Linked DNA regions of Homo sapiens: regions 1, 2, 3, 4, 5 and 6 are each linked to region 7. The links are contacts of gene promoters, found by promoter capture Hi-C in blood cells and fetal thymus (Javierre and others, 2016). All regions are on one chromosome and are shown on one strand. Each heading gives the region's core, a stretch centred on a gene start or on the middle of the fragment in contact. The rest is flanking DNA. Distances are from core to core; before and after follow the strand shown. Region 1 overlaps ABCD3 (ATP binding cassette subfamily D member 3). Region 2 has its middle 49 kb from the start of CCDC18-AS1. Region 3 has its middle 34 kb from the start of MTF2. Region 4 holds the start of MTF2 (metal response element binding transcription factor 2). Region 5 overlaps DR1 (down-regulator of transcription 1). Region 6 overlaps CCDC18-AS1 (CCDC18 antisense RNA 1). Region 7 holds the start of DNTTIP2 (deoxynucleotidyltransferase terminal interacting protein 2).

Evidence for each region. Contacts are between HindIII fragments. The CHiCAGO score rates a contact against its expected background, and 5 or more counts as called.
Region 1: a contact is called between a fragment that was not itself captured here and the fragment with the promoter of DNTTIP2 in region 7, in 1 of 17 cell types (non-activated CD4 T cells). The highest score is 5.7, in non-activated CD4 T cells.
Region 2: a contact is called between a fragment that was not itself captured here and the fragment with the promoter of DNTTIP2 in region 7, in 4 of 17 cell types (M2 macrophages, M1 macrophages, endothelial precursors and 1 more). The highest score is 10.0, in M2 macrophages.
Region 3: a contact is called between a fragment that was not itself captured here and the fragment with the promoter of DNTTIP2 in region 7, in 1 of 17 cell types (total CD8 T cells). The highest score is 8.2, in total CD8 T cells.
Region 4: the fragment with the promoter of MTF2 here is called in contact with the fragment with the promoter of DNTTIP2 in region 7 in 4 of 17 cell types (non-activated CD4 T cells, total CD8 T cells, naive CD4 T cells and 1 more); the score reaches 6.3 in non-activated CD4 T cells.
Region 5: a contact is called between a fragment that was not itself captured here and the fragment with the promoter of DNTTIP2 in region 7, in 3 of 17 cell types (M1 macrophages, M2 macrophages and non-activated CD4 T cells). The highest score is 7.2, in M1 macrophages.
Region 6: a contact is called between a fragment that was not itself captured here and the fragment with the promoter of DNTTIP2 in region 7, in 2 of 17 cell types (M0 macrophages and M2 macrophages). The highest score is 8.0, in M0 macrophages.

The regions. Positions count from the first base shown.
Region 1 is chr1:94,421,675-94,425,611 of GRCh38, forward strand. All of the region lies in intron 1 of ABCD3 (ATP binding cassette subfamily D member 3), which reads left to right. Among named protein-coding and RNA genes, the nearest start is that of ABCD3, 5.3 kb to the left of the region's middle. The HindIII fragment of the contact is 5,695 bases long and covers 1-3,937 here.
Region 2 is chr1:93,294,719-93,298,326 of GRCh38, forward strand. No RefSeq gene overlaps it. Among named protein-coding and RNA genes, the nearest start is that of CCDC18-AS1, 49 kb to the right of the region's middle. The HindIII fragment of the contact is 2,713 bases long and covers 605-3,317 here.
Region 3 is chr1:93,043,083-93,046,961 of GRCh38, forward strand. No RefSeq gene overlaps it. Among named protein-coding and RNA genes, the nearest start is that of MTF2, 34 kb to the right of the region's middle. The HindIII fragment of the contact is 2,189 bases long and covers 206-2,394 here.
Region 4 is chr1:93,077,617-93,081,144 of GRCh38, forward strand. It overlaps MTF2 (metal response element binding transcription factor 2), which reads left to right and starts at 1,667. Exons shown (of 15, transcript NM_007358.4): 1 at 1,667-1,915. The coding sequence starts at 1,911. RefSeq lists enhancers at 1,230-1,479, 1,416-1,710. The HindIII fragment of the contact is 3,598 bases long and covers 1-2,484 here.
Region 5 is chr1:93,364,020-93,367,892 of GRCh38, forward strand. DR1 (down-regulator of transcription 1) reads left to right here. Exons shown (of 3, transcript NM_001938.3): 3 at 1-3,873. Among named protein-coding and RNA genes, the nearest start is that of DR1, 20 kb to the left of the region's middle. The HindIII fragment of the contact is 5,973 bases long and covers 1-3,873 here.
Region 6 is chr1:93,315,362-93,319,199 of GRCh38, forward strand. All of the region lies in intron 8 of CCDC18-AS1 (CCDC18 antisense RNA 1), which reads right to left. Among named protein-coding and RNA genes, the nearest start is that of CCDC18-AS1, 29 kb to the right of the region's middle. The HindIII fragment of the contact is 1,907 bases long and covers 1,577-3,483 here.
Region 7 is chr1:93,877,225-93,881,315 of GRCh38, forward strand. DNTTIP2 (deoxynucleotidyltransferase terminal interacting protein 2) reads right to left here and starts at 1,982. Exons shown (of 7, transcript NM_014597.5): 1 at 1,853-1,982; 2 at 1-638. The coding sequence starts at 1,924. RefSeq lists enhancers at 1,708-2,137, 1,989-2,804. The HindIII fragment of the contact is 5,310 bases long and covers 1,491-4,091 here.

The DNA of each region.
Region 1 (3,937 bases), core at 627-3,126, 540 kb after region 7:
AATGTACAGATAGACATGTCTTAGAAGTTTTGAGAAAGACAAGATTAATGTGTTTGGGAAGGGTTGGGGAAGGCTTCATGAAGGATGTGTGTTAAGCCTAGAAAGGGGGTAGGAGTGGATAACTGGAATAAAGTGACTGTTACAGCATCCTTTATCAGATTTTTGTTGCATTTATGTTAGAAAGAAACTTTGTGGTGCCCTTTCAATCCATCTTCCACTGCCACCAGAGCTCTTTTTAAGAAGCTCAGATATGATCATAATATTCCTTCATTAAAATCATTAATCTACTCTAAAATACAAACTTTCTGTATTCATGGTGTGGTCCTTCCCTACTTTTCCCACTCATCCAACCATAAGTGCTGGGATTACAGGCATGAGCCAACTTGCCCAGCTGATACTTCTTTTTCTTCAAGACTCAGTCAACACTTTGTCTTAGGTGTTTTCTGTCTTTTTCTGATTTCCAAACTGATGTAAGTGTCCTCTGCTTTTATGATACTGTAGGCCAGGGGTCCCCAACCCCCGGGCTGTGGACTGGTACAGGTTGGTGGCCTGTTAGGACCCAGCTGCACAGCCTGTGCAAGCGAGCATTACCACTTGAGCTCCGCCTCCTGTCAGATCAGCAGGGGCATTAGATTCTCATAGGAGCGTGAACCTGTTGTAAACTGCACATGTGAGGGATCTAGGTTGCACACTTCTTATGAGAATCTAATGCCTGATGATGTGAGGCAAAACAGTTTCATCCTGAAACCATCCCCCAACTCAACCCCAATTTGTGGAAAAATCGTGTTCCGCAAAACTGGTCCCTGGTGCCAAAAAGGTTGGAGACTACTGCTCTAGGTATCCCCTACTCTAGCACTTACCATTCTGTATTGTACTAGTTTGTTTTCTTGGCTTTTGCCTACATCAGATCCTGAGTTTCTTGAGGGCATGAACTGAGTCATCTTTAATTCCCTAGTTCGGCTCTGTCATGGGTTAGACAGTGTTTATAGAGAGGATAAATGACATAGGATAGTTGAAGAACTTTTAAGCGTAATTGACAGGCATTTGGAGATGCCTAGTACAAACATGAATAGAAACATTCTTTTTGCAGAAGTAATAGTTGTGTACCTGAGCATATATAACCTGACCTGGGTAGTGGGAAATCAGTGGGCCAATTTTAGAAGGCAGGGAATGGTACCAGTCTGTATAGCCATAGTATTTTATTATCTTTAAAAAACAGAACAGAACAAAGCAGTTTCTTTCGCTTCTTATCAATGCTTGTCAAATAGAGTTCGGATTTCTCATCTTGGATTTCAGAGCCTCCCTCAATCTGGTCTTACTTTACCTGGCTAATCTTATATGCCATTGCCTGCCAATGGGTACTCTCTGTTCCAAATAGGACAGTTTCTACACTGTTCTTTGAACAGGCCACACTCATTTTTGGCTTTGGAGCTTTATTCATGCTGTTACTCATACCTAGAATATCTTTCTATGATATCCCTGTTCTCCAACTCTTGTCATCCTTGAAGGGTTAGGTCAGGGTCACCCTATCCATGAAGTGTTATTTAACTACTCCAGATGATCTAAATGATGATCACCTCTTTTAAAATTTCTGAAGCATGCATTTAAATACCTTTATTGTTTTATCTATTCATTGCTTGACTGGTTATAATCTAGCTAGGTCTACCAAAGTCCACCTGCTTATGGGGTGAGTTTCCTGCTTTTAAAAGCCCCCCTCTGTAAATGGTGGGAACACAGTTTCCTCTCCTAAATATTTCTCAGGAATTTCAGGGAGCTTGTGTTTCTTTTAGTGACATCTTACTTCGCTTCCTTTGGAGCACTTTCTGCTCTATTTTAGAAGGTACTTACATCTTGTCTCTTGAGCCTGTCTCTTTGGCGTCTGCCTTGATTTCTCTAAAGAATCAATCACAAAGCAGATATTTATAGTAGGGCTTTATTGAAAATTTGGGAGGAGTGGTAGGGATTATATCCCAGCATAGTGAACAGCTTAAAATGCTTTTATTTAGAAGTTTTTTGGACATTCCCACTGCTGGAAATTTCTTGACTTTTTTTTTTGTCCTGAGTCTCAGCCCTGTTGCCTGCTGCTGGGCCTTTCTTTACCCATTGGGTGTCCTTATATCTCCAGCTTCTTACTCCCTGCACTACGTTACTGCTAACCCCTCTACAACTTTCCTGCAAACTTCAAAATTCAGCTTTCCTTCCTTAAATCTGCCCCATTCAAATCAAGCTCTAGAAGGGGCTGGCTTCACTTTTCTCAGTTTCACAGGCGCACTGGGTGTTTTGCAAAGTGCAAGCATGAATCATGTGAGGGGCTAGAGCGGCTTGAGACCCTTACAGTTACCCATGAGTAGATGTTATATGGCCCCGTTTGGATCCTCAAAATAAAAAAGAGATGCTTAAGCAACCTTGGATGGAAAAAAAAGCATTGAAGAATTTGCCAGCCAAAGTAGCTGTGTACTGAACCCAACTGAGGCAGATCAGGCCCAGAGCAGTGTTCTGAGAACTGTGTAGCTGTCTGTGGTCTGCTAGGGGGAACTGAGTACAGGTTGTTTAATTAATTATATGTCCCAGTTACTGGCACATTCACATCCTTGGGTAGGCATTCTATTTCAAGGCTTTTGCTCTTGCTGTTTCCCCTGCCTGAAGTGCTCTTTCCTCAGATACTCACATTGCTTACTCTCCCCACTCTTTCAGTCTTTTTTCAGACATCCTTTTAGTGAGACCTTCTATTGCCATTCGATTTATTTTTATTTATTTATTTATTTTGAGACGGGGTCTCACTCTCTCACCCATGCTGGAGTGTAATGGCACCATCTTGGATCATTGCAACCTTTGCCACCCAGGCTCAAACAGTCCTCCTACCTCAGCCTCCCAAGTAGCTAGGACTACAGCCACACGTCACCACACCTGGCTAATATTTTTTGTAGAGACAAGGTCACGTTATGTTGCCCAGGCTGGTCTCGAACTCCTAGGCTCAAGCGATTCTCCCACCTCAGACTCCCAAAGTGCTGGGATTACAGGCAAGAGCCACTGTGCCTGGCCCCTGCCACTCAAAATAGCATCCTGTCTACCTTCCAGACTTTACTTTTCTCCTTAGCACTTATCACTATAAAATATGCTATATATTTTACATATTTATCTTGTCTGTTGTATATGTTTGCAGTATATACATACTGCTAGCATTTAAGTTCCACAAAGGCAAGAATTTTTGTCTATTTTATTCACAGTTATAGCCCCAGTGGCTAGAACTGTGGCTGGAATATATAGTAGACACTCATATTTGTTTGACTCTACAACAACAAATGAGATTCTCATTTTTTGGGGGCTGTGGTTACTATTGTTTTAAATAACACATTCTTTTTGCTACAAATGTAAATGTTGTCTTTAGTATATTTATGAGCTCTTTAGGAGCTGGACCACTTATACCCCCTATATGTACAGGTAAAGCAAGTCTCAGAAACTTAAAAAAATGCTATCATCACCTGCTTTTGACAGTTTAATAGAGTGTAAACATTAAAGACAATTTAAGAAAATTAAAAATCATCCATAATGTTATAACCATAATACAAATATTGTTTTATTTTTGTTTCCTTTTATTCTGTATTTATGTGCATTTTTACAGTTATAACGTACATGTTTTGTTATTTTCATTTAAAGCATACCTCTTTCCTATATTTCCCTGTACATGACCTTCATAACTATACTTTTAAAGAAATACGTAAATATTCCTCTGTGTGACAATATCTTAGTTTATTTTCCTGTTAGCTATTGAGGATCTAGACTGTCTCTGGAATTTTTATGGATTATACTGGTGTATTTTTGCAAGTGAACATTTTCATCTCTGCTGAATAACTTCCTTGGAATAAATTGCCAGAAGTAGGATTAATGAATGGAGGCTTATGAATTTCCTTAGTGTTTGTGGAAACTGTGGGCATTC
Region 2 (3,608 bases), core at 711-3,210, 580 kb before region 7:
GTCAACAATAATTTATTGTACCTTTAAAAATAACTGAAAGAGTATAATTGGATAGTTTGTAACACAAAGGATAAATGCTTGAGATGATTGATAGCCCATTTACACCAATGCCAGTGTGATCATTATACACTGTTTGCTTGCATCAAAATATCTCATACTGGCCAGGCAGGTTGGCTCATGCCTGTAATTCTTGCACTTTGAGAAGCTGAGGTGGGAGGATCATTTGAGCCCAGCAATTTGAGACCAGCTTGGGCAACATAGTGAGACCCCATCTCTAAAACGAACAAAAACAAATTAAGTCTCATATACACCATAAACATATACACCTACTATGTACCCCACACAACTTAAAAATTAAAAGTTAAAAAAACAGAGAAAGTTAATGAAGCCAGAAACTAGTTACTGGAGTTGATTAATAAAATATATAAATTTTTAGCCAGGCTCACACAAATAGAAGATACATAGTATCAATATCAAAAATAAGACAGGTAACATCACTTCAGATTGTGCACTTATTAAAAGGATATAGAATGTTATCAACAGTTATGCCAATAAATTTGGCAATTTCAAATGCACAAATTTCTTCAAAGACACAAACTACCAAAGCTTCCTTAAGAAGAAACTGATGACATGATTAGCCCTATATCTATTAAATAAATTTAACTGAAGTTTAAAAACTTTTCCACAAAGAAAATTTCAGATTATGACATTTTAATTCTTTTTTTCCCCTATGGAATATGCTAATTTTATTCTATGAGCAATGGGGACTTCATACATGTTTTAAAAATAACTTTTTTTTTAAATTTCAAATGTGCATTACGGGGAATTGAAAAACACAAGAATCAAAGAACAAAATAATCCACAATAACAAGCATCTTACAGTTGGATGTGTCCTTCTAGGTCCTGTGTTGTCTATATACAACATCCAATTTTATGTGGTTGAGATCATGCAGTATGTATCATGCCTTTTCACACATTATGAATATTTACCAATTCAAAATCTCAAGTATTTTGATAACTGAGAATATACTACACCAACTCAATCTATATTAAAAAATATATAATCCTGCCTTTCTTGGGGACAAAAATTTCACAGAAGCCCAAAATGGCAATAGGCGTCTAGATAAAGGTATCGGCAAAGTTAATAAAAATTACTGCATTCCCTTAATGCTCTATTTAAAATGAGACATAAAGCAAGAGTACACTAGTATGTTTCTAAGAGAATTCATTATCAGAACTATATTATTAGAATATTAGTGAAAGGCCGGGCACTGTGGCTCATGCCTGTAATCCCAGCATTTTAGGAGACCGAAGCGGGTGGATTGCTTGAGCCCTGGAGTTTGAGACCAGCCTGGGCAACATGGTGAAACCCTGTCTCTACTAAAAACACAAAAACTAGCCGGGCGTGGTGGCGGGCGCCTGTAATCCCAGCTACTCAGGAGGCTGAGGCACGAGAATCGCTTGAACCTGGGAGGCAGAGGTTGCAGTGAGCCGAGATTGCACCACTGCACTCCAGCCTGGGTGACAGAGCGAGACTCTGTCTCACCAAAAAAAAAAAAAAAAGAATATTAGTGAAAAAGCATGTTTCCATTGGATTACTGAGTGTGTTACTATAGTAGAACCAAAAGAGATGCACACACATAAATGGCTATCATCAATATGTAAATATAAACACATCTACATACATCTCTCCCTTTAAACTTCTTTCTGTCCTTTTGCTGCCAACCTAATGAGCAAGTTCTGATATACACTACTCAGAGGTGGTTTAACAATTCCATGTTCAAGATGCATTTTTTTCTATCCATTTATAACAAATATATATTTAGAAACTGATTTAGCTTTACTTTTTATCATCACCCCAAGACACCTATAAAACTTAACTGTTACAAAATAAAGAATGGACACTGCTGATGGGAATGTAAATTTGTTTAAGACTCTTTCCTGTCTCAAGTGAAGGGAAGGAGTATTTCCTGGGGCTTGAGCTGTGCTAACTGGAGTTGGGGGAGGGGTGGCACAAACACTCCCTTGATTGCCCCAGCTGGTGTCTCACTGGGTCGTATGCCCCCCACATCCACTGGCTCCCAGCCCAGCACAGCACCAGGACTTGCCCAGGAATTGCAGTCCTTGTGGCCTAGACTGCTTTTCAAGTTTATTTAGGACCCCAGAGCACTTTAGCTTGTGTTGGTGAGGCTTGCTGAAACTCAGGTTCCAACCACTGGAATGGGTGATTCCCCTCTGGCTAAGGCTGGTCTAGATGCTCCCTTGTTGGGTGCCAGCTGAGTTCTGCCCAGTGTTGTTTTCCACTGTGATAGGGCTGTACTGAGTACCAATGCAAAGTCCCAAAATCACTGCGCTCTTACTCCCCAAAATGCACAGATTCTCTCTCTGCGCTATATAACCTACTGCTGGGGGATATGGAAGCAGTGGCATCTGCAATTCAAGACTGTTTTTCTTACCCTCTTCAGTGCCTCTTTCAGTGATATGAAGTTAAAACCAGGTACTGTGACTGCTGACCTGATTTTTGGTTTTTATGGTGCTTTTTATGTGGATAATTGTTAAATTTAGTGTGCAGAGGGGCTGATTGGTAGAGGCTTCTATTCAACCATCTTGCTCCACTTCCTCCCATTATGTTGTATATATCTTCAACAGACACACACACACACACACACACACACACACACACACACACCCCAACAATCTAGAAATAGAAGACTAATTCCCTTAATATGATAAAAGGCATCTATGAAGAACCTACAGTTGACACCATACTTAATGGTGAAAAACTGAATGGTTTCATGCAAAGATTAGAAACAAGGTAAGGATGTCCACTCTCACCATTTCTTTTCAACATTTAATGGAGATGTTAGCCAGTGCAATAAGGTAAAAAAAACAAAAAGGATAAAAGGCCTCCAGATTTGAAAAGAAGTAATAATACTTGTTATTTGCAGATGAAAATCCCAATCAAAATCACAGCAGGATTTTTTGTAGAAATTCATAAGCGAATGAATTTTAGATTCATGCTGACACTTAAAAGACCTAGAAAGCCAAAACAGCTTTGAAAACAAAAACAGAATTGGAAGACTCAATATCTGAATTCAAGATGAGTATCCAGAAATAGACCCACACATATGTGGTCAATTGATTTTCAAGAAAGTTCTAAAGGTGATTCAGTAGAAAAAAAGACATCTTTTAATAAACTGTGCTGGTACAATTCAATATCCATGTGGGAAAGAAAACTCAATCCATACCTCACATCATAAACATTAACTAAAAAATGTATCCTATATCTAAATGTAAAATCTAAATGTAAAATCTAAAGCTTTCAAGTTTTAAATATAAAATTTAAAACTTCTAGAAGAAAACAAAGGAGAAAAATCTTTGTGATTTTGGATTAGGCAAAGATTTATTTGATGTAACACCAAAATTATGATCCATAAAAGAAAAAAGTTTGTAATTTTGACTTTATCAAAGTTAAGAACTTATGTTCAAAAGACTTTTTTTTTTTTTTTTTTTTGAGACGGAGTCTCGCTCTGTCGCCCAGGCTGGAGTGCAGTGGAGCAATCTTGGCTCACCGCAAGCTCCACCTCGTGGATTCACGCCATTCTCCT
Region 3 (3,879 bases), core at 50-2,549, 830 kb before region 7:
CAGCATGCCTAGCTATTTTTTTGTATTTTTTTAAAGATGGGGTCTTGCTATGTTGCCCAGGCCGATCTTGAACTCCTGAGCTCAAGCAATCTTCCCATCTCGGCCTCCCGAAGTGCTGGGATTACAAGTATGAGCCACCACACAGAACCAGTATGATCTCTTTTCATGGTACTTAAAAAATTATATTACTAGCCTTTGTTCAACAAGCTTGTATAAGTGTAATGACCTATTTTATAAATTATTTTTATTGTATTTTAAATTAGATGTTTATTGATGACTTAGCAAGAAATACATTACTCTCAACACTAAAAGCCTATTAACATTAAATTATAAAATTTAGTATTTCCAGAATATTTCTTGCAGACACCAATCCCATCAATGTTTCAACTCAATTTAATAGGCATCTTGTGAAGAACTGGTATAGAAAATCAGAGTTTTGCTCAATGCCTAATTATCATAAATTGAAGCATTTATTGTCTTCTATGTTCTTAGTACCATATTTAGTTATAGGACAATTCATAGTCCTATATGGTGCTATGGTATAGCAATAGGCTATACCATATAGCCTAAGTGTGTAGTAGGCTCTACCATGTAGGTTTGTGTAAGTGCACTCTATGATGTTCACACAAGGACAAAATCACCAAACAATGCTTTTTTCAGACTGTACCCTGTCGTTAAGCAACATATGACTGTGTTTTATATGGGAATATGGACACCAAAATGTTATTCTCTATGTGTATTATGAGTAATTTTTATTTTTTGTTTTATACTTTTTATATTTTTTCAGAAATAACATCAATACTTTGTAATCAGAAAAATATATTTTAGGGATAAGTATTGGCTTGTACAATTTTTTTTTTGCTTTTGTGAAAATACAGAGGAAAAACTAATGTTATATTATAACGAAAATGGTATATGTTAACAAAGGAATCCTTTTACAGAAACTCCTTAGAAATAAAAGGAAAATCAAGGCCAAAGCAAAAGTCATGTCATGACTTTAAAGAACTTTGCCCCCTAGGATACAAAATCTATTAATTTTAACGGTGGGGCTACTGTTTGTAAGAGTACCAAACATTCTGAATAGATAGAAGCCTCCAGCTGTAAACTGATGGACTTTTGTGGTCTCAAAGCAGTTGAGGGTTTCTACCCTTAAAATACCATTTCTCATGTTACAGCAATTGAGAGTGTGCAAAATGTATAGAACAGATTGTGTTTCACTCTATTTGCGTGGCTTGTTGAAGTTAGATTAATACTGTGGGAATCCTTACTCCATTCATAACTCTGAATATGTACTTATGGTATTTATATATCTAGAATTTAAGTAATCACTCTTGCCCACCATCTGTACACGGATAATTTTTACCCTGGGAGCTATTGGTTCCAATGTATTGTTTTGACATTATACGCTATAGTTGATTCAAACAGAAGTGAATACCACAACAGTTGGCACTCTAAAATAAAATCCAGACCAATAACTTTCACAATTTTGTGGAATCTAATATGCCTATTACCCACACTGAGTCCACTACAGAATTAAAGTGAAAACTTGGAAAAGTAAGAATGAGATCTATATAAAAATTATCATCCCTCACTTGACAAAAAATTCTCATTGAAATCAATTGAGACTACAGGGTTCAATCTAGGAAAGTTGTATAGACCTAGAGTTCCCCAAATTTCTCAACTATGTCTGTTGACTGATATTTATGGCTTCCCTTTTCATTTATATTCTTTTTCTTTTCAAACACAGTGTAGTATAACTTGTTTAATTTTTTTAAAGTCTGAAGACTCAAAAACAAAACTAAACAATTTGAAAGCAAAACCTTACTGGCAGTGCAGATGCAACTTACAAAATATGAGAATCAGATGTGGAGATCTTTAGGGATTATAACATTTTAGATGATGATGATGATAACAATTATTATTATTATTTGAGACAGGGTCTCACTCTGTTGCCCAGGATGGAGTGCAGTGGCGTGATCTTGGCTCACTGCAACTTCCACCTCCTGCGTTCGAGAGATTCTCCTGCCTCAGCCTCCCAAGTAGCTGGGACTACAGGCACGTGTCACCATGCCTGGCTAGTTTTTGTATAGGTTGATGCAAAAGTAACTGTGGTTTTTGCAATTTTAAAAGTTATTTAATATTTTTGGTAAAGACAAGGTTTCACCATGTTGGCCAGGCTGTTCTTGAACGCCTGACGTCAAATGATCTGCCTGCTTTGGCCACTCAAAGTGCTGGGCTTACAGGTGTGAACCACTGAGGCTGGCCCCTTTTAGAAATTTTAATAGTAGCCAAGGCATGATCGGTACCAAACTATCTAATTCCAGCTACAAAGGTTGTTTGAAAACTCATTTTTAGAAGTTTGATAGCCTGTCCATAATCATACCACTTCCCACAAGCTTGAAAAAAAGAAAAAAAAGCAGGGGATAGCACATGGATTATACAAAAGGATAAAAGGATTATTATTATGTATTTATTTATTTATTTTTGAGACAGAGTCTTGCTCTGTCACCCAGGCTAGAGTGCAGTGTCGAGACCTTGGCTCACTGCAACCTCCACCTCCCGGGTTCAAGTGATTCTCATGCCCTAGCCTCCCAAGTAGCTGGGATTACAGGTGTGCGCCATCACAACCAGCTAATTTTTGTATTTTTAGTAGAGTTGGGGTTTCACCATGTTGGCCAGGCTGGTCTTGAATTCCTGGCCTTAAGTGATCCACTGACCTCAGCTTCCCAAAGTACTGGGATTACAAGTCTAAGCCACAGTGCCTGGACAAAAGGATTATTTTAAACATAACTAATGTTGCTTATTTACAAGTTTTTATGTACTTCTAAATTTCAATATATTTAAAGTTTTCTGTTGACTAATTTAATCAAAACCTGTCTAAAGTTGAAGAGAGAAGATCCTGAGAAGTTACGTATTGATTAATTCCTAAACTTAGTTGTAATGTATATTGACCTAACTCTAACTTTATCTGAAACTAATAGGTCAACCTAATATTAGGTCAACATTATTATTATTATTTGTTTATTTATTTAATTTGTTTTGAGAAGGAGTCTCACTCTGTGGCCCAGGCTGGAGTGCAGTGGCACAATCTCGGCTCACTGCAAGCTCCGCCTCTGGGGTTCACACCATTCTCCTGCCTCAGCCTCCCAAGTAGCTGGGACTACAGGTGCCCGCCACCATGCCCGGCTAATTTTTTGTATTTTTAGTAGAGACAGGGTTTCACCGTGTTAGCCAGGGTGGTCTCAATCTTCTGTATGTCAATATTGCTAACTGAATACTAGGTCAATATTATTACATTGTTCTAATTCTGAATGTTGATGCCCATATGGTTAGCGCTAATAACCGTTGAATATGTCTGCAGTTTATCAAGGAGTTTTATCTTGTTCTAACAACAAAACAAAAGAAAAAGAAAATAGAAAACAGTGGGCATATTCAATCATCAAAGGACCCAATAACAGAGAGAAATGTAATTTACATTTCTTGAATGCCACTATACATCAGACATTATGCTAGGCATTTTACATGGATTTATTGCTTAATCTTCCCAACGATCCTATGAGTAATTATGAGTAATGTATTATTATCCTATTTTACAGATGAAGAAAATGAGACTTGAAGGCAGAAAGTGGAATGTAGATGACACTCAGCTCTTCTTTGAGATGAAAACCCAAATGCATGAGGATAAATCAGAGGAAGTTATTATAAGACAGGGAGGTTGAGAAAAATGTGTCACATGAGTTTCAGCACGAACAAAAGCAAGGTACTTTCATTTAAAATGTATTTAGAGGATAATGATAAGTCATTATTAACTACTCCTCTAAAATAATAATCCTCAATGGTTACAGCCAATATGCCAATAGAAGATTGGGCATTGCCAAA
Region 4 (3,528 bases), core at 417-2,916, 800 kb before region 7:
TGTTGAGGAAAACTTAGACCAAACGTTCTCCAAAACAGATGTTCTCTGATTAGGCTTAGCTGCACAGCAAATATATCTGTTTGTGCAATATCTTTATTAATTTTTGTACTGCATCTACTTTTTAATATTTTATTTATTTATTTACCTTAATGCCACGTTCCTGAATGGGAATGCATCTACTTTTTTTTTTTTTTTTTTGAGATGGAGTTTTTGCTCTTGTTGCCTAGGCTGGAGTGCAATGGCACGATCTTGGCTCACCACAACCTCTGCCTCCTGGGTTCAAGCGATTCTCCTGTCTCAGCCTCCCGAGTAGCTGGGATTACAGGCATGTGCCACCACACCTGGCTAATTTTTGTATTTTTAGTAGAGACGGGGTTTCTCCAAGTTGATCAGGTTGGTCTCGAATTCCCGACCTCAGGTGATCTGCCTGTCTCGGCCTCCCAAAGTGCTGGAATTACAGGTGTGAGCCACCGCGCCCGGCTGCATCTGCTTTTTTTAAGTCAAAATTTTCCTCAGCCAACGTATGAAGGTCACTTAAGACGAATTTATGAGAGACGATGATGAGAATTGAAATAAAGTGAAACCTGAAAGGTAGTAGGTAAGTAGATACAGTGAGGGTACAGTAAGAAGACAGACTTAAAAGATTAGGACTATTATTCAGGAGAAGCAGAGGAGTGGAAGGGTATGACCACAATATTTAAAGTATTGAATGGTATTGGATAAAACGAATATGCTTATTTGCCAAATTCTGAGATCACAGGCTGAGGGAACCCCTTTTGAAGTATGAGCCAAATGAGCTTAGACCACAAAAGGTACTTTTTCAGAGACAGAAAAAATATGGTGTTCACTATCCCTGTGGCATAATATGGGACAAAAATATAAAATGGCTTTAAAAATATTTTGACGAAATTATAAATAAAGATTCCACACGTGGCTACTAAGAGGAGCTGGGTTGTATCTAGGTGTAAGTTAAAGAGACAAGCATACAATCTCACAGCTTGTCAGTTGGGACCCCTGTAGGCAGCAGAATCTGGGCAGGCTAAGGGTCTGCACTAATAAACAATTCTGTTTTCTTAAACCATTTTGCAGGGGACTATTCTCAGATTTCATTACAACTAGGAAGGACTGCAAAGCGGGTAAACAGAAAACAACCTTTCATCGTTAGGAAAAAAATCGTCTGAAAGTCTTTCATAAAAGCAGCTCCTGATAAGGAGTTTGGGACTGGACAGTGAATCGCTGAATAAAATTTAATCTCGACATCCTGGGTCTTCTCCCCTCTGAAGGAAATTCTAACAGCAGGCCTTAGGATGAAAGTAGAGGAAACGTGCTTCAGTTAAGGTTTTCTCCAGGGAAAAGAAATCGGCCCAGCAAGATGCACAGAGCACCGTTACGACCACGCACACCGAAGGTCGCACACGACCCTTTTCCTGTATAACAGTGCCAGCCTGCCGACGATCAGGAGCGCAGCTTTCACTATTGTGTTAGCCCCGGCGGCGGAAGGACTGAGCCTCACTGCAACGTTAAAGAGTCCTTCTTTGTTCAGCCCCAGTCGGGGACGCAGGGCGCGGTGTTCCTCCGCGCTCGCCGCGCAGTCCCTGCCCCCCCGCGGCTTTGGAGAGCTGCCATTCGGCACCGGAGTCGCTCCGCGCTCCCAGAATGCACCGGCAGTCCGCGGGAAACCAAAATGGCGAGGGGCTGTATTGAAGTGGGCTGTGTTTGAGGCCGGTGTAAGAACGCTCATTCTACCCCCAACCCTTGTCTCCAAGGACCTCGGTTTGTGCGTGCATATGTGCCGGGTACCCGGTGGGGCGGGTGCCCAGTAAGTGCTCGGACTCGCAGGGGAAGCGCCCACGGGGACGGATTGGTTGTTTTTTCCTGTATGAAGCGGTTGGCACCACTGAAGTGACCGAATGAGGTGAGAGACCTTGGCCTGGGAACCGACTCTTCCGGAGGAGATGGGGGTTGGGGGAAGGAGGAAGAAAGGAAGCAAGTATAAAAGGGAAAGATGGAGGACCAAGGTGGGGGTGGGGGCTCCTGTATGTGGGTGCCTTTGCATTTATGTGTATATTGAAAAGAATGGATGAAGAGGAGTAGTCAGTTGAGTGTTGGGAGAAAATAGGGACTAAAGGAGCGAGGAGGTCGTTGGGGGAGTCTGTTGGAGGAACAAGATGAAACGTTGAGACGGGGAAGCTGTGTTTGGAGGGCAGGAAGGAACCTGGGGGCGGGAGACGGTTGGAGGGGCAGGATGAACCTGGTGACGAGGGGGTGGGGAGCCGAGAGGAGGAGCCGTTGGGAAATGGGGGCTGAGGGAAATGTGGGGAGCAGAGTGGAGGGCTGCCTGGGACCTTAGCAGTGCGCAAAGGGAAGTAGCAGCTTGGAATCGGAGGGTGGAATTGTATGGAATTGGAGTAAAGGGGGTCGAGTGTAAGTGCTGGTAAGGATAAGGGGAACACACTGAAGTGGAGGTTGGAAGCACAACCTGAAAGCTTAAAGGGAAGCGGTGGGAGGGAAAGTGAGATGGGGGAAAGCTAGGTAGCTTATATTTGGAGCTCACCAAAAATATGAGGCTTTTCTTGTGTTTAATTAAACCTAACTCATATAATCTACGTCTAGGATGTAGATTTGTATTGTATTCATTTTTACAACTGAGGTAATTACGGCTCAAGGAATTTTAACCAATTTGCCAAGATTTCTTAACATATTTCGGTAGTGCCAGAACTCTAACTCTGTGTTTTACAATCTGGTGTCCTTGGTTGCTAGAATTTTTCTTTGGAAGCAATTAGAGGGAACAGATGGATTTATCGGGGTAATCTGACTAACAGCAAGGGTTTGTGAACAATGGGAAAAGGCTTATGGAATGTTACTCTATTCTTTAAAACATTTAACTTTGGTTAAAGATAGAAACCATGTAACACTAACTTAAATGTGAAAACCTAGCTAGGCCTGTGTGTAATACATAGGAAGGCACCATGTGAGGTCAGTACAGAGCTAGAAATATGTAAATAGTACCTGATTTAATTTGACTTCAGAACCTCCGGTAGTAATAGTAGTTACTTTCTCCTTCAGATGGATTCCATGTGACCCTCCTGTATACCTAGCCTACAAGCTGGTTTCAATTTCCATGGTTTCATTCTCTCTTGGGAATTCCTTTTTTTTTTTTTTTTGTCAGTAAATTTCAAAGATAGTTGTATGTAGAAGTAGTTAATGTGGATAAAATGTAATTAAATTCACAATAACCTTTTTAAGATTTGAAAATGCTTTAAAGGGAGTTGTTTTGACTGATGGCTTTAAGTGCCCTATAGTTTAGTTATAACTTGAGAGGGAATACAAAATGACTTGTTTTTTCAGATTCCTAAATATAAAAATGTATTTGAATTCACATTTTAAAATTAGTTCACCTGCAGTTTTTTAAAGTGCTAAAAATGTTCTAAATATTTGAATTAAGAACACACCTGCTTCCTGATACTACATTTATAATGTTAGTGGGTATTAACGGAAATGTGTAACTATCAGGATGAAATGCATACA
Region 5 (3,873 bases), core at 1,282-3,781, 510 kb before region 7:
TTGCCAGGTTGTAGGGTGTGTATATTTTCAGTTTTAGTATTTACTGTCAAACAGTTTTCCAAAGTGACTGTAAGAAGGCACCATTTTAATGTGTAGCATAAAAATGAATTACGCTAATGATCTTAGTGGGTTGAATTTCTCGAAACACCTAAATTGTACCAAATGAGTTATATTGCAGCAGGTATGTTGTTAATTTCATATAACAGGAAAATAAGAGCAAAAGTAATTGCCCTTATTAACTGACACATTAGTATTACATACTCATTAGGTTATTGCTCCTTAGAAAAAATGCAAATTTTAAGTAATCGTAAGTAGTATGTTGAATTAGTATGTTGTGGGAAAATCTGTGATTTAATTTTTTAATTGAATTTTAAATTTTGGGTTATAACCTCATTAAAATGCATGATATTTCCTTATATAGGTTTCTAAATTATGTCTGTCCAACTCATCTATATCCAAATGGCCATTAGGAAGAATTATCCAATTCAGATGGCATAGGCACTGCCTTCCAATTTCTTCATTTGTATTTTTTTGTTGCTGTTTTCTTTTTTGCCTCTGTCCCCAACAATTTGACCACAAGTCCTACCCCACCTCCTCTGTTTTTCACCATCCCCCAGGATATAAAGTGTCATGGTTAGGATCGGCCAGGGTGAAGAGAATGATAACATAAGTAGCCTCCTTTCACCTAAAGTATTACCACTGGTTCTTATCCTATTTCCTCAAAATAAATGAGAAGAGAAAGTAAGGAATAAGAGGAAGAAACTTTTTTTTTTTTTTTAAAGAAACAGGGTCTCACTATGTTTCCTTTTTCTTTTTTCTTTTCTTTTCTTTCTTTTTTTTTTTTTTTTTTTTGAGACAGAGTCTTGCTCTGTCACCCAGGCTGGAATGCAGTGGCGCGATCTCGGCTCACTGCAAGCTCCGCCTCCCGGGTTCACGCCATTCTCCTGCCTCAGCCTCCTGAGTAGCTGGGACTACAGGTGCCCGCTAGCACGCCCAGCTAATTTTTTTTGTTTTTTTTTAGTAGAGACAGGGTTTCACCGTGTTAGCCAGGATGGTCTCGATCTCCTGACCTCGTGATCCACCCGCCTTGGCCTCCCAAAGTGCTGGGATTACAGGCGTGAGCCACTGCGCCCGGCCTATGTTTCTTAATATAGATTGCAGTGGCTAGATTACAGTGACTATTCACAGGCATAATCATAATGCACCATAGCCTCAAACTCCTGGGCTCAAGCAATCCAAAAGGAGGAAACTTTTAACTTATGATCAGTTTCTACCATAAATCAAGCAACTTAGAAAAACCTTAGAACAGGGTTTCTCAAACCAAGCATTGTTAGTATTTGGGGTTGGTTAAGTCTTTGTTTGTGGGAGCCTATCCTGTGCATTGTAGGATTTCTAGCAGCATAATTGGCTTATGCCCACTTGATGTCATTAGCACCACTCCCCACCCTACTTCCAGTTGTGACAACCCAAAAATGTCTCCAGACATAGCCAACTGTCCCTGGGTGTTGCGAGTATAGGAGGCAAAATTGCACCCTGTTGAAAACCACCACCTTAGATCATCTAGGTTTTACTTTTAGGATAAGACACTTGAGGGAAAGGCTGTGAAACTGAACCTCTGTTAGAAGCAACACACAGTATCACTGCAAAAAGACTAAAAGAAATAGGTGATTTGGAAAGAGGAGGCCCAGGATTAAAATATGTTTCCAAGAAAGTCAAATCTTACAGGAGACTCTTGACTTCACATCTGCTGATCCCTTTACCCGATAGGACCTAGAGCAGCCATTATAAATCTCTGTACCTGCTTGCTGCTTTTCTACCTCATTGTTAGCCACACCCAGTTTGAAACAGATGAGGTATGCTATTTCATAACTAGTACATCTTTTAATAAGCATTTTTTATTGTGATTAAATATGCATATCGTAAAATTCACCACTTTAACCAGTTTTAAGTGTTCAATTCTGTGGCATTAAGTATATTCATACTATTGTGCAACCACCACCACCATCCGTCTACAGAACTCTTCATCTTCCCAAACTGAAATTATGTATTCATTAAACAATAACCACCCATTACCTCCTCTCTCCTCAGCCTCTGGTAACCAGCATTCAGTCTCTATGAATTGACTACTCTGGATATCTAAATGGATTCATTCTTATTTCATTTACCATAATGTCTTCAAAGTTCATTCATGTTGTAGCATGTATTAGAATTTCTTTCCTCTTAAAGGCCAAATATGCCGTAGTATGTAAATACCGTATTTTGTTTATCAGTTCATCCATTAATGGACACTGGGTTGCTTCTGCTTTTTGGCTATTGTGAATAATGCTTCTGTGAACGTGGGTATACAAATAACTGTTTGAGTCCTAATAGGCTTGTTATTTTTGAGTGCACAGATCTGTATATTCGCAATTGAAATAGGGAAAGTCTTTATATTCATATAAAGATAATTTATAATACAATAAGTCCTCAATGTTGTTGATAGGTTCTGGGAAACTGCGAGTTTAAGAAAAACAACATATAATGAAATCAATTTTACCATAGGTGAACTGATATAAATAAGAGTTAAGTCCCTATGGCATATATTTCTGGTTACAAAAACACTACCAAATTTCTAATAAAGACCCAAAACACTTCTAAAATTAAACATTGAGATTAATATGAGCTTTATATACATTTAAAAAGGATAAAAACAAGTAAGAATTGGCTGGACATGGTGGCTTACGCCTGTAATCTCAACACTGGGAAGTCGAGGTGGGCAGATGGCTTGACCTCAGGAGTTCGGAACCAGCCTGGGTAATATGGTGAAACCCGTCTCTACAGAAAAATTCAAAAATTAGCCAGAGGTGGTGGCTTGCACCTGTAGTCCCAGCTACTCGGGAGCCTGATGTGGGAGGATCCCTTGAGCCTGGGAGGTCGAGGCTGCAGTGAGCCATGATCACGCTACTGCACTCCAGTCTGGGCAACAGAGCAAAATCCTATCTCAAAAAAAATATATATATTATCCAGCCCCAAATGTTTATGGGGTTGTTATTGATAAACCCTGCATTAAACAATCCCACAGTCGGTGCTGCGGTGAGCCGTGATGGTACCACTGCATTCCAGCCTGGGTGACAGAATGAGACCCTGTCTCAAAAAAAAAAAAAAAAAGTAAAAATTATTTACCCAATATTTGGCGAATCAGTGAGTGACAGCAGTTGTAGTGCTAGTGGGTTAAATCAAGGAATAACTGTTGGGAAGTGAAAATTTTAAGGAGCACCTCCTACCACCATGCAGTTCAAAAACAAAAAATAAGAAATAAAGTGGGCTTGCTGAGTGCTTTCATACTGCATCATTTATTGTGCATTTGTATGATTATTATATACTTTACAAATTTTCGTTTTACAGTAATTTGTATTCATTCGTTTTTCAACCTGCTTATTTCAGTTCAGTGTCTTGGGTAGCTGGAGCCTATCCCAGCAGCTCAGGGAGCAAAGTGGGAGCCAACCCTGGACAGGATGCCTTTTCATCACAGGGCGCACTCACACGGCACACACACGCATACTGGGACCATTTAGCTGTACCAATTCACCTAACGTGCATCTTTGGGAATTGAGAAGAAACCAGAATACCCAGAGAAAACTCATGCAGATATGTGGAGGACATGCAAAATTCACACAGACAGTGGCCCTGGTTGTAAATAATTGTTTTTCATCAATGTTATAATGAAATTACAGGCCGGGTGTGGTGGCTTACGCCTGTAATCCCAGCACTTTGGGAGGCCGAGGCGGGTGGATCACGAGGTCAGGAGATAGAGACCATCCCGGCCAACATAGTGAAACCTCATCTGTGCTAAAATACAAAAAATTAGCCAGGCTTGGTGGTGTGCACCTGTAG
Region 6 (3,838 bases), core at 1,280-3,779, 560 kb before region 7:
AGGCAGAGGTTGCAGTGAGCCGAGATCACGCCACTACACTCCAGCCTGGGCAACAGAGCAAGACCCTATCTCAGAAAAAAAAAACAAAACCTACCTCAAAATAATTAAGGCCATATGTGACAAACCCACAGCTAACACTGTATTGAACAAGCAAAAATTGAATGCCTTTCCTCTAAGAATTGGAGGAAAAACAAGGATGGCCACTTTTACCATTTTCATTCAGTATCATCCTAGAAGTCCTGGCTAGAGCAATTAGATAAGAGGAAGAAAGGACATTCAAATTGGAAAAGAAGTCAAATTAGCCTTGTTCATAGATGACATGCTTTTATACTTAGAAAACTCTAAAGAAAGACTTCACCAAAAAAACTCTTAGAACTGATCAACAAAATCAGTAAAGTAGCAGGATACAAAATCAACATACAAAAATCAGTAGCATTTAAAATATGCCAGGAGCAAAAAAATCTGAAAAAGAAATCAAGAAAGCAATCCCATTTACAATAGCTACAAAGAACATAAAATACCTAGGAAACAGTTTAACCAAAGAAGGGAAAGATCAACACAAGGAAAAGTTATAAAACACTGATGAAAGAAATTAAAGAGGACACAAAAAATGGAAAGATATTCCTTGCTCATTGATTGGAAGAGTTAATGTTGTTAAAATGACAATACTACCCAAAGCAATGTACAGATTCAATGTAATCTCTACCAAAATATCATTAACATTCTTCACAGAAATAGAAAAAAAAATCCTAAAATTCATATGGAACCAAAAAAGAGCCTGAATAGCCAAAGCAATCCTGAGCAAAAAGAACAAAACTGGAGGCATCACACTACCTGACTACAAAATATACTACAAAGTTATAGTGACCAAAACAGCATAGTACTAACATAAAAACAGACACATAGACCAATGGAACAGAATAGAGAGCCAAGGGCTGGGCACAGTGGCTCACACCTGTAATCCCAGCAATTTGGGAGGCTGAGGCTGGTGGATCACTTGAGGTCAGGAGTTTGAGATCAGCCTGGCCAACATGGTGAAACCCTGTCTCTACTAAAAATACAAAAAATTAGCTGGGCATGGTTGCCCACACCTGTAGTCCTAGCTACTCAAGAGGCTGAGGTGGGAGAATAGCTGGAACCCGGCAGGTGGAGGTTGCAGTGAGCCGAGATCGCACCACTGCATCCCAGCCTGGGAGACAGAGCGAGACTCCATCTCAAAAAAAAAAAAAAAAAAAAAAAAAAAAGAGCCAAAATATAAATCCACACATTTACAGCCAAACTTCTTCCACAAAGGCACCAAGAACATACAATGGGGAAAGGACAGTCTCTAATAAATGGTGCTGGGAAAACTTGATAACCATATGCAGAAGAATGAAACTAGACCCCTATCTCTTACCATATACAAAAATAAAATCAAAATGGATTAAATACTTAAATGTAAAACCTGAAACTGTGAAACTACGAAAATAAAACATTGAGGAAATGCTCCAAGATATTGGTCTGGGAAGATTTTTGTGGCCTCAAAAGCATAGGGAACCAAAGCAAAGTTGTCAACTGAGATTACATCAAGCTAAAAAGCTTCTGCACAGCAAAGGAGACAAATAATAATGTGAAGTGATCGCCCACGGAATGGGAAAAAAGATTTGCAAACTACCCATAATAAATAATTGTTAATTCTTTATTAATTTATTTAACCCTAACTGATTTTCCTGGCTATTAGGAAACTCAGAGCTTAATTTGTGGTTCATCTTTAAAAACTGAGCATGCTTTTGTGGTTGTGCTTATTATATATATTAACCTTATACATCTCTACTCCCAACAAAGCCAGCTTTATCTTATTTTATTCTGGTATTTTCTCTGCTAACCCATTAAATTATGGCCCCTTAGTGAACCACATCTCACAGTGTTCCCACATTTGTATGGTGCTTTTCCTTAAATATGGGCTAGGCCTGTGACTTGCTTCAACAAGTGGCATGTAGCAAAAGTGACACAGTGCCAATTCCAGGCCTCAACTTTAAGGAAGCCTGGCAGCTTCCGTTTTTGTGCTATTTGAAGCTCCGAGCCACATGTAGGAAGTTTGGCTACTCTGCTGCAGAGACCACATGGAAAGTGCTACATATGGAGGTCATGTAAAGAGGAAGAAGCCCTGAAACTACATGGAGAAAGAGAGAAACTCAGTTCAGCCTCCCAGTGTTCCAGCTGAGCCCAGCCTAGATTGTGGAATCATGAGCAAACTAATGAGTTAACCAATTAGGTAAAGAAGAAATAACCAAATGGTCCCATTCCAGAATGCCCACCCAAGCCCTTCCTCTTTCTTTAGGATGCTGTTTCTGAAAGTCTGGCCTGAAGACCACCTGTATCAGAATGACCTGGGGTGTTTATTTGAAAGAAAAATTGTCAATCCAACCCCAGAATTTCTTGGGCAAGGCAGGATAATCAGTATCTTTAACAAAACTTTTCCAATTGATTCATAAGGAAAATAAAGTTTAAGAACCTGGTTAAGGGCTTTCTCCTGACTGTTCTCCACACTAATCTAAGCCTACCCTTCTTTTTGACAGTCTATTACTCTATTTTCAGAAGTTTGATCCTGCTGTTCCTCAAATGCTGGACCAAAATTCTAGATCAAGGAATTTCTCATGCTATTTTCCTCTCACCTATCCAGCTCTGTTCTACTTGGTTCATTCACTCTGTATCCACCTTGTCTTCAGGAGCTCTGATTTTGAGGTGCTTCTCATGTCTCAGCTAAAGAAACTCAGGCCTAAAAAAACTGAAATCCCTGACTGTGCAGATTAGTTCTGGTTCTTACCTTATTTTTCAGGCCAGCCACATCAGCTGTCCTCATCCTTAAAGTATCATGATGAGAACTTCTGAAACCGAATACAGTTAAATATAAGGACAGAAAAATATCTGATGGTTTTGTCAATTAGATATTGGTAAACTCAGTGAGATCAATTTAGGGGTGCGTTAAAGGAAAAAGATTTTGCAGTAGGTTTAAGAAAGTTTTTAACAAGGTAGAAAAGACTGAGCATGCTTGCAGGTGGAGGAAAAAGAACCAGGAAGGAAGGAAAAGTTGGTAATAAAATAATGTGTGGTTGAGAAGGTAGCATGAACCAGAAGGGATGAGAATTGATTATAAAATAAGGTCCCAGACAAAGAGGGAAGGTGTTTTCAGTTTTCTATTGCTATATAATAAATTATCCCAAATTTACCCATTTTATTATATATCATGATTTGAGGGGCCAGAGATTTCGGCAGGGCTCAGCTGGGCAATTTCTCTGCCCCACGATATCCTATGTGGTTACTTGCCAGGTTTGCTGGTAGATGGGTTAGTCTCAAAATTCCAAGATTGCTTCATTCACATGTCTGATATCTTGGCAGGAGTGACTGGAAGGTTGGGCTCAGCTAAGAATGTCAATAAGAGCACCTACAGATGGTCTTTCCAGGGTACTCTTAGGGTGACTGGCCTTCTTACATGATGGTTCAAGCTTTCAGAGAGGATATTCCAAATATCCTGGGCAGAAACTATTGGTATAAGTCTTCTTATTACCTCATCTCTCGGATCCCAGAATGTCACTTCTGATTAATTCCGTTGGTCAAGTCACTGACTGGCCTTACTGACTCAGCCCAGATTCAAGGGAAAGGGAATTACACCCCACCTCTTGGTAGAAGTGTCAAAGAATTTACAGTCATTTTTAATCTGCTATAGAAGAGGTGAATTGGATAAGATCAGAGAATATAATAAAAGATTTGCCTTGGACATGAAGACAGAATACTGCTAAATGTTGGAGTATGCAGAACTCTGGTCCTCGGCTCCTCTCTTTCTATCCAAGTGTAGGGA
Region 7 (4,091 bases), core at 732-3,231:
TCTGAATTCACAGGTGTACCCACGATCTGTTTCTCATTTCCTGGTACAATCTTACTATCTTTCTTTTCAGTTTGTGCCTTTAATTTCCTCTGCATACTCCTGGTTCTTCTAGTTGCAATTCCAGAGAATGAAATGTCTGAGCTTGATGTCTCAGCATCAGATATAGCTTCTGTATGAGATTCTTGGCTTGGATCTGTCAGAGATTTAGCCTTACTTCTTCTGGCTCCTGTAGTTTTTTCTGTAGGAAGCACAATTCTAGAAATACCTGAAACATGAGATTCTGCTTCAGACACTATTTCTTCAGTGTAAGACTCCTTTGTTGGAGTTACTTTCGGCTTTTTCCTAACACTGGACACTGGGGAGCATGCAATTAAGATCTGCCTTCTCCTAGTTACCCTTAAAATGGTATCATGGTGCTCAGACACAGAATAATTTGACTCTGCCTCAGAGGTTTCTCCATCCGTAGATGGTTCAGTCCCCTTTGGTAGTGAGCCTGTAGTTCTGCTCTTCCTCTTTCTAGCTTTAGGAGTTCTAGGGATTAAACTTTGCTTCCCAGTGGTCTGTGATTCAGCAGTAGTTCGGGCATCAGATCCAGTACTACTTTCTGGATGCGCTTGAATCCCATTAGCAGCAAAACTCTGCAAACCAGAGAAAACACACTGTAATTTAGGTAGGGCTGGAACAAGGGCAAAGCAAATGAAATACTGACCCCAAAAGCTAAAACCCAGTAAACAAGATTACCTTTAAAACAAAAAACAAAAAAACCTGCCCAACTCATGATTTTTAAAAAATCAAAATTTGGCCGGGCGCGGTGGCTTACGGCTGTAATCCCAGCACTCTGGGAGGCCGAGGCAGGTGGATCACGAGGTCAGGAGTTCGAGACAGCTTGGCCAACATAGTGAAACCCCATCTCTACTCAAAGTAAAAAAATTAGCGGGGCGTGTTGGTGCGCACCTGTAATCCCAACTACTCAGGAGCCTGAGGCAGAAGAATTGTTGGAATCCGGGAGGCAGAAGTTGCAGTGAGCCGAGGCTGCGCCACTGCACTCTAGCCTGGGCGACAGAGCAAGACTCCGAATCAAAAACAAACAAACAAAAAAATCAAAATTTAAACACTGGAGCCAACCCTGCATTTACTTCACTAGCCTCATCCTTCCTAGATGTAACTTCAGAAGCAGAACGATTAAAATTTTTCTGTTTAAAGTCAAATATAATGGGTAGACCAACATTCTGACCCACCTATAGAAGAGGGGAGAAAGGGAATATTAACTCTGAACACCGATGTGTTTAGGAACACACTGATGGAATCAGTCGCCGCCCTTACCTTTACGTACAGGAAAAAATCGCCGCCGCTCCGTTCCCTGCATCGCTGAGTCAGAATGAGACAGCCGACTAACGCCACTAAGAGTCACCAGGCGACGACACCACAGCCCTCCTCACGCCTTAAGGAGGTGATGCTGGACAGCTGCCAGCCTCCCCACGTGAAAACGAAGCTTTTTTTCCAGCCCCCCTAAATGGGGCTTGTGCATGGTGGCCGAAATTAACCCTCCTTGGTACCGTGTTAACAGTAAGGTTTAAAAGTTCGAACTGTGCTTCTGCATTAAGGAGTTGAACGACCCAAATAAAGTTATCTAACCTCTCTTCCATACTAAAAATTGCCTTAAGAGACAGTGGTGAAGGCTAAACAGTTTCCGTGACAGGCTTAGCACGGGGCCTGGGAGACCCAAGCGCGCGGCAAGCTCGGGTCCTCTCTGTCGGCAGGTCCTCACCCTTAACCGGACCCTTGCGCCGCCCCGCCTGCCTGAGCGCGGCTCTGCGAAGCGGCGAGAAGTAGGGAAGACTGGATTTCCTACCTTTTGCCCGGAACTTTCAGCCGACGCGGCTTGGATGCTGGCCTTAGCCCGTGCAGATCTGGTAACCACCATCTTTCCGGCTCCCTCGCGACCACCACGACTTCCCTCTTCCCTGGCGCTCCGGAAATGCGTCAGAGAACTGCCTCGAGCGCGTTTTCCGCGCAGATCCGAGAATTCGCGAGAATCTCCGCCCAGCCAGTTCAGGCCAGGGCGGTCAGAGACAAAGGGCCTGGGTTTAAGTGTGCATTTCAGAGCTGTAGAAGGCAAGCCAGATTTTTGCTGGGAAAGACCTTCATCGGGGCGGCGAAGCCCGCAGTGACAGAGGGTCTTAGCGTACCCGTTCACATGAATTGTAAAAACGCACTTACATGCCATTCGTTCTTTCATTTGTTTAGTAGAATCGTTTGAACCCGGGAGGCGTTCTTTCATTTCTACGTTCTAAAGAGCTTAATGTAGCCATTGGTATGTCCAAGGGAGAAGTTTGAGATATTTGTGCTTTTTAAAGAAAGACAATATTTACTCGTGTATTGTGACGCTAACTATAAATAAAATTTAAGGACTTGGTTGGGGTAAAAGGGATATAAGGTGCTCGCAGGAACTGGGAGACGAAGTGGAAAGCTGTATAATCTAAACGTGAGATGGTGTTTAGGGATTGGGAATAGCAGAAAAGAAAAAAACGTTAAAGAAATTGTAAAGGAGAAGAATAAGGTTTTGTTGTTGTTGTTGTTGTTGTTATTGTCACAGTGAAAGGAAGAGTATGACCAGAATCAAGAGGTTTCTTTGGTTATCTTTTGAGATAAAAGGTAGAGAACTATGTTTGAGGGGATGGGAAGGGGTTGAAAAAATAAGTAAACGCAAATTATTGTTGGAGGTGAGAAAGGATGAATGAGTGCCTCACCAAACCTAGTCTCTACTTCATGACAGAAAACCAATTTTTTATTTAAAGTCACAGAACACTGTGTCGATGGACACACTGCTTCCCAGCTTAAAATAGCTTATTTTATAGTCTCTCTTGCAGCCAAATGTGGCTATGTGACTACGTTTTAGCCAATTAGGTATAAATTGTGTGCATGTCTTTAGGGACGGCATCTAAAAGAGAGGAGGCCGTCCCTGACTTTTTTTTTTGGAGACGGAGTCTTGCTCTGTCGCCCAGGGTGGAGTGCAATGGCGCAATCTTGGGTCACTGCAACCTCCGCCTCCCGGGTTCAAGCGATTCTCCTGCTTCAGCCTCCTGAGTAGCTGAGATTACAGGCGCCCGCCACCATTCCTGGCTAATTTTTTTTTTGTATTTTTAGTAGAGACGGGGTTTCACCATGTTGGGCAGGCTGGTCTTGAACTCCTGCCTTCAGGTGATTCACCCGCCTCGGCCTCTCAAAGTGCTGGGATTACAGTGCTGGGATTATAGGCCTAAACGACCTCGCCCAGCCCTCCTGATCTTTTAAAGTGCATTTTACTTCCTGGAAAGTTGGGTTCGCTGGTTTTCAGGCGGCAAGTTTGTGCCATAAGGATGAAGGCATGCTTTAGAGATGGCATAGCAGTGAGATGGAAAAATCAACTTGTGGAGCTGCCCTATGAGCCCTCAAGAGCCGCCTTCTAGATTTTTCACCTGATGGAAACACCTTGTTAAAAGCCACTGTTAATTAAGGATTTTTCTATTTGCAGCCGAGCCTAATGCTAACTGAACTGGATAATAAACAGAGATGTGGGTGTAGTCAGAAAAGAATGCACCTTCCTTTGAGCCAGGAGGAAAGAGTTGATATCTGAAACAGAGAGGAGAATGTGAATGCAAGTATGTTCAAGTGGAGTGAAGAAGAGAAGATTTTGGGTAGATAATAACCTCTGTAAGTAGGTGATACATCTCAGAAGAATGGAAATGGTTTATATCAACATTTGTGGCAAATGTGGTAAGAAGCAAAAATAAATTTTAGTAGGGCCAAGTAGCAGTGAGACTATGTAAGAAGATGAACAGAAGAGAAAGGTTAGATTTGAGGAGGAGACAAATCGTGTAGAAGGAAAGTGAACCAATTGGATGTAGGTTGTGGAGATCAAAGCATCAAAGAACAACAGCATCAATCATAATAGTATTGGCCACTTAATATCTGCTGGATACTAATCTACGTGCTTTACATGTATTCATTCATTTAATCTCCACATCTTTAATTTGAGCAAATGCATGAAAATAGAAATTAAGATGACAGAGGTAGGTGTAGAAAACTGGAGAGAATATTAGAAAATCATG